Regions from separate parts of the Homo sapiens genome. Here region 2 is linked to region 1. Evidence: promoter capture Hi-C in 16 types of primary human blood cells and fetal thymus (Javierre and others, 2016). All regions are on one chromosome and are shown on one strand. Each heading gives the region's core, a stretch centred on a gene start or on the middle of the fragment in contact. The rest is flanking DNA. Distances are from core to core; before and after follow the strand shown. Region 1 holds the start of RNF122 (ring finger protein 122). Region 2 overlaps VPS37A (VPS37A subunit of ESCRT-I).

Region 1 (3,146 bases), core at 276-2,775:
CGAACTCCAGTGATTCTCCCACCTCAGCCACCAGAGTAGCTGGGACCGCAGGTGCGCACCACCAGGCCCAGCTAATTTTTGTATTTTTTTTACAGGTGGCTTCACCATGTTGCCCAGGATGGTCTCAAACTCTTGAGCTCAAGCAATCTGCCCGCCTCAGCCTCCCGAAGTTTTGAGATTATAGGAGTGAGTCTAGACTGAAACATTTTGAATGCCACACTCTAGTTTACAGAACTTTATTCAGTAAACACTGGAGACCAACAAACGTTATCAAGCAAAGAAATGTTCAGATTTACATTTTACAGAGATAATTGTGACCAGAAGGGATGGACTTGAGAGTGAAATCAGAGCACTGTTTCTTTCAATAGCCGCATGAGAATTTGAGGGGTGGGGAAGACAAGGCACATTAAAATGAAAATTTCTGGGTCCACCCTTTATTGAATCAGAATCTCTGGGTTCAAGGCCTGGGAATCTGCATGTTACATCTCAAACATAGGAGTGATTCTTGTAGGCTCTGAAGTCTGAGCTATAGACTAGAATCAGAATGGCCAGTTAGGAAGCTTTTGCAATTATCCAATTAAGAAATGAAATGTCCTGGGTGCCATGGCTCATGCCTGTAATCCCAGCAATCTGGGAGGCTCAGGCGGGAGGATCACTTGAGTCCAGGAGTTCGAGACCAGCCTGAGCAACATAGTGAGGCCACTCATCTATACAAAACAATTAAAAAGTAGCTGGGCTTGGTGGCAGGCACCTGTGGTCCCAGTTTCTTGGGAGGCTAAGGTGGCAGGACTGCTTGGGCCCAGAAGTTGGAGGCTGCAGTAAGCTATTATTGCACCGCTGCACTCCAGCTGAGTGACAGAGCAAGACTCTAACTCAAAAAAGAAAAAGAGGGCCGGGAGCGGTGGCTCACGCCTATAATCCCAGCACTTTGGAAGGCTGAAGCAGGAGGATCACTTGAGGCCAGGAGTTCGAGAACAGCCTGTCCAACATGGCGAAACCCCGTCGCTATTAAAAATACAAAAATTATCTGGGCATGGTGGTAAGCGCCTGTAATCCCAGCTACTCAGGAGGCTGAGGCAGGAGAATCACCTGAACCCGAGAGGCAGAGGTTGCAGTGAGCTGAGATCGCGCCGCTGCACTCCAGCCTTGGCGATAGAGGCAGACTCTGCCTCCAAATACATAAGTAAATAAATAACAGATCTGTAGGCGGAAAACAATGTGGCAGTAATTGTTCCTTTGCCTTGGTGTCCCTGGGCAAAAGGCAGGCCCCCACTCCGGGGCATCGCTCGTCGCCGCTCCATTCTCTGCAGACCGAAGTTTCCCCAGGCCTGGGAAGACTAAGTGGGAGGCGCCCACCGTGCGAAGATCCTCCCGGCTTCCAGGGAAGGGAGGCTGGGCCTGCAAATAATAGCCGGGGGCAGGAGAAAGGCTCCGATTGGTCGGAGGGAGGGTGACGAACAAGGGGCGGAGTTTTCCTGGGGACTGGTGGGGGAAGTAAAAGGGAGGGGGTGTGCACCGCCGGGTGTCAGTTTCGGAACCCCAGCCAGCTCACCTCTGCGCCGCTGAACCCGATCCGAGCCTCCGGCAAAGGTTTTTCCCTCCTCCCCCGGCCGAGGGCTTCTGCAGCCCGGGCACCCCCGCCCCGCGGCGCCCCACATTCCCCCAGCCCGGGGCCCTTGGCGCGTGCGCTCCGTGCGGCTGTGCTCCGCGGGACTTTGTTTGTTTCCTCCTCGTCCCTCTTTGTTGGGCTGAACACCAGCCTCGTCAAAGCCCCCCACTCCGGAGGGAGTTCGGCTTCTCCAGCAGGGCGGCTGCAGCGCGCTGCCCCGACCCCGCCTGCGGCCCCTCACGCCGCTAGTGCTCCCACCCCGCCCTCCTGGCACCCCGCCTGCGTCCGTTCGCCCGAGGAAGCCAACCGCGACTTCATTGATGCACCCATTCCAGTGGTGTAACGGTGAGTCCCCGGGGCGAGGGCCGAGCCTACGTGGGGCTGGTGGGAGCCGCGGCGCGGGGTGCGAGGTCGGACAGCAGCGCGCTGGTCCTCCCTCGGGAACCAAGTTTCTCCTGAAATGGGACAGTCGAGAAGGCGTCTTGGCGCCCCACTCTGCTCTGCACAGCGCGGAATTTGAAACTATCCAGGTTTCACTCCAGAGCCTGGAAGGGGCCTCCGGACTGGCGGCGGGCCGGGGGCGTGGGAGCCGAGGGGTTCCCGGCCTTTGTGTGGCGGCCCGGCTCTTCTACCCCCTTCCCCTGCCTTTGTGCGCTCAAACTCTGTTCTTTGTTGTGGTTGTTGGAGGAGAATTAAATCCGCACTCGGGCTGGGATCTCCTAGAGGGAGCTCAAGTTCCCGGCCTGAAACTTTGCAGGCTATTGTAAATATGTATACCGTGCAGCGTGCGGGACTGGGCGCGGGGGTAGCTTCCTCTGGCTTTGTTGGTTTCCCACGGGCTGCTGGCGTGGCTTGGGTGCTTGCGGAAGACTGGATTAAAGAGTCGCTTTCGGCCAGGCGCGGTGGCTCACGCCTGTAATCCCAGCACTTTGGGAGGCCGAGGCGGGCGGATCACCTGAAGTCGGGAGTTCGAGACCAGCCTAACCAACATGGAGAAACTCCGTCTCTACTAAAAATACAAAATTAGCCGGGAGTGGTGGCGCATGCCTGTAAGCCCAGCTACTTGGGAGGCTGAGGCAGGAGAATCGCTTGAACCCAGGAGGCGGAGATTGCAGTGAGCCTAGATCGTGCCATTACACTCCAGCCTGGGCAACAAGAGCGAAACTCCATCTAAAAAAAAGCCGTTTTCCTGAGTTGATAAACCCTCGCAGAGAGCTCCGCGCCCGGCTGTCCCTGGGGTGCGAGGCTGGCCTGGCGGGAGCCGTGTTTCTGGCCACAAGGCCAGATTAGGGTGTCTGCTCCTGAGCCCAAGTGAAGGCCACACCTCCAGACGCGACAACCCCTCGCCCCATTTCTCCCCAGGCCTGGGTGATGCTTCTAAGTTAGTTCATTTCACCTGAGGCTTTTTGGAGGTTCAGGTGATACTGGGTTAGGCTGGAGTCTGATTCCTCAGCGAGCTACCTGAAAGGTAGGTGTTTCTGAGCGGGACACTTCAAAACCTTGGATACTAATCGCCCCCCACCCCACCCGCTCCAGT
Region 2 (3,146 bases), core at 319-2,818, about 16 Mb after region 1:
AGCGGAGACTCCTCAGGAAGTTACTAACCCCATGACAGCTACTGACTCCCCAGGAAGCCTCCTTTTCCAGAAGATAACTATCAACTTGCCCTACCTAAGGACTCGTCATTCTTATTCTTCATCACCAGAAGCAGACTATGGCAAACAGTAAGTATTCACAAACAAGTCAACAGGGAAGCTCAAATACAGAAACGAGAACGTCATAAAGGTTTGAATAAAAAAAAATCACGCAAACTGTGCACCAAATTCAACAAATTGAAACATAAAAAACTCAAGAGCAAAGACAAGATGACTATAAATTTATGTAATATCAGAACAACAAAAGACAACAGCACTTGCACACACACACATACTTACACAACTGATATAAGAATGAAAAAGCAAGAAACTGGAAATTTAAAACAAATAGCTCCAAAAATGGTTCAGTGTTGTTTGGAAAATCCTTCATACTATAGCTGTCTCTTGGAGAATGCTGATCCACTTTAGCACATTAAAGATTTTGAGAAATTCCAAAGTAAATTGTGTTTGTTTTCGAAATCTGTGTTAACATGGAGCACTTATTTCACATTTTTTTAATAGAACACATGATAATGACTGAGATGTACAAAGAGCTATGAAAACACAGAAGAAAGCACCTAACCTAGCGGCAGTGGGGTCTTCTGGAAAAAATAATATCTGAGTTACATTTAAAAGAGTTAATACTCAGAAAAGTAAATCAGGGAAATACAGTGTACATTTTAAATGGAGAAGCCCTATCAGAAAAGCTTCAGATACAAAATAACACAAGTTCTCCAAAAGTCTCCATAGCCTTTGCCATATATGAAACGTTACATTCTGTTTGTTGATATCTTTCCACCAGTCACATCACCATCTTCTGTGACAACCAGGAATCAAGTTAAGGTGGCTGGCCTTTTTTGACAAGAGTTAGGAAACTACTGAAAGGAGTGACATGGTCAAATTTGAATTTTAGAAAGATTACTCTGGCAGCAATGTGGAAGAAAAGGCAGAGGGAAAAAGGCTGGAGGCAGAGAGAACTGTTAGAACCTTGTGGTAGTAGACATGGAAGACTGAATGGAAATGGAAGACGGCACAGGTTTTCGGCTTAGGTGAGCAAACAGCAGAAATGGTTTGGAAGGAGTTCAGGTTGGGGGGAGGGGCAGATGTAGCTGATTTAACTAGCAATGGAGAAATGACTGCCTTATCATAACTTTTTTTTAAAGCAGTAACGGACTAATATTTCTAATGAGAAAATTAACTGAGCACTTGAGCTGTATGATATTTCTTAAATGGTACCATGCTTTATTGCGTCATACGCTCTGCAATTATACGTCTTAATCACTGGTTACAAATAGACAATATAATTTAATGTGTCAAAGTTTTAACTTAATTACAGGATTGATACGCATAATTTTAAAGTTTACTATATAGAGCTCAAAGTGCATTTACACAGTCAAAATGTTGATATTTTGGAGATTTCTGTAGCTTCAATGGGCTAAGGCATAACAGATGCTTGTAGAATTTTTTATTACAAGTTAATGTTATTTCCTTCCATAAAGAAGTTTTCCTATCAAATAACTACACCAGCGAGGTAACACACATGAATGAAGGCAGCTCCTTGTAGTCCAACAGGGAGTGAATTGCAAACTAGTGAAATGGGTAGTGGGTAGCCCAGCAAAGCAGACAGCTACTCTTCAGCTTGAAGCAAATGTTGCTATGTGGAAACCAATCTTTCCAGATTTTCCATTTTAAAAGAAGAGTTAGAGACGACAGGGGACATAGGGGAAATCTTCTGCCTTTTAATTTTGCTGTGAACATAAAACTACACTAAAAATAAAGTCTATTAAATAAAGAAAAATTGGGCTGGGTGTGGCAGCTCATGCCTGTCATCCTAGCACTTTGGGAGGCCAAGCCAGGCAGAGTGCTTGGGCCCAGGAGTTTGAGAGACAAGCCTGGGCAACATAGCAAAACCCCATCTCTACCAAAACAACAACAACAACAACAAAAGTAATTAAACTTATGAGCCAGGCATGATGGCATGTGCCTGTAGTTCCAGCTACTTGGGAAGCTGAGGTGGGAGGATTGCTGCGGTAAGCTGTGATCGTGCCACTGCACTCTAGCCTGGGTAACAGAGTGAGACCCTGTCTCAAAAAATAAATAAATAAAAAGGAAACCTGGAAATTTTAATACAAAAATTGCAAATTTTGACTGTTGATAATAAATGCTTTTCATAAAAATATATAACATGCGACGGGTTGAAACACAGACATACACATCCCTTCATTACAATATCTCTTGTGTTACCAAGTTTGTGTGTGAGTCCTCATGAGCTGAGAATGAATTCTATAGAAACAAGAGCATGGAATTTAAGCTTACTCAGAATCCCATGAGATAGGGGGACAAAGTCTTATAGCTGTGATCAAAACGTTAAGCTTAGCAGCTGTGGGGGAGAACTATACAAGAGCTGACTCTACAAGAAGTTTTAAGGCTAAACATTTAGGCAATCAGAACAACGGAATCCGCAGACTGGCAGCAAAAGAAAATATTAAAACAAATTTTAAAGACTAGGGAGAATGGCACTACTATTTTAAAGATAGGGACAAGAACAAAATACAGTAACAATTGCTGTTTACATCTCCTGTGTGCAAGATAATAATTTAGGTTATTTACCTGCATCATGCCTAATTTTATGAAGAAACTAACTGTCTGGAATGGACTTGCTTTCTAAATGGAAAGTCAGAAGTAGTTCTGCCAGAGACAGATAAGTTGTAGGTAAGCTTATGAGAGATCTACAAACAATAAGCTGGCTAGAAGCTTATAGGCTAAGAGGCAAAGATTCAAGCACACTGATTCTATGCAGTAGAAAGAAGGAATGTAATTCGTCCTATGCCTACTATGTGCTAGATACTCTTCCAAATGTCTTACATATATTTTTTAGTTATCAAAAATCCTGCATGACAGGAATCACAATTGCTGATTTTACAGATAGGAATTGGAGGATCAGGGTTGTCTCACATAAAAATATCCAAAACATGAGACATTTCTTCCTCCCAGTCATTTGTTACTATTGCTGAGAAAACATTTTGAGCAGCTCCCCAGCAGACTTCCCCTCCAACTCCCACTAACCAAGAGTCCTGCTTCCACAGTAA

The links. Contacts are between HindIII fragments. The CHiCAGO score rates a contact against its expected background, and 5 or more counts as called.
Region 2: a contact is called between a fragment that was not itself captured here and the fragment with the promoter of RNF122 in region 1, in 1 of 17 cell types (M0 macrophages). The highest score is 5.7, in M0 macrophages.

What each region holds. Positions count from the first base shown.
Region 1 is chr8:33,565,507-33,568,652 of GRCh38, reverse strand. It overlaps RNF122 (ring finger protein 122), which reads left to right and starts at 1,525. Exons shown (of 6, transcript NM_024787.3): 1 at 1,525-1,954. The coding sequence starts at 1,930. RefSeq lists silencers at 1,641-1,760, 1,811-1,880, 1,911-1,960, 2,101-2,150. The HindIII fragment of the contact is 8,620 bases long and covers 563-3,146 here.
Region 2 is chr8:17,251,190-17,254,335 of GRCh38, reverse strand. All of the region lies in intron 1 of VPS37A (VPS37A subunit of ESCRT-I), which reads right to left. Among named protein-coding and RNA genes, the nearest start is that of VPS37A, 5.8 kb to the right of the region's middle. The HindIII fragment of the contact is 1,604 bases long and covers 767-2,370 here.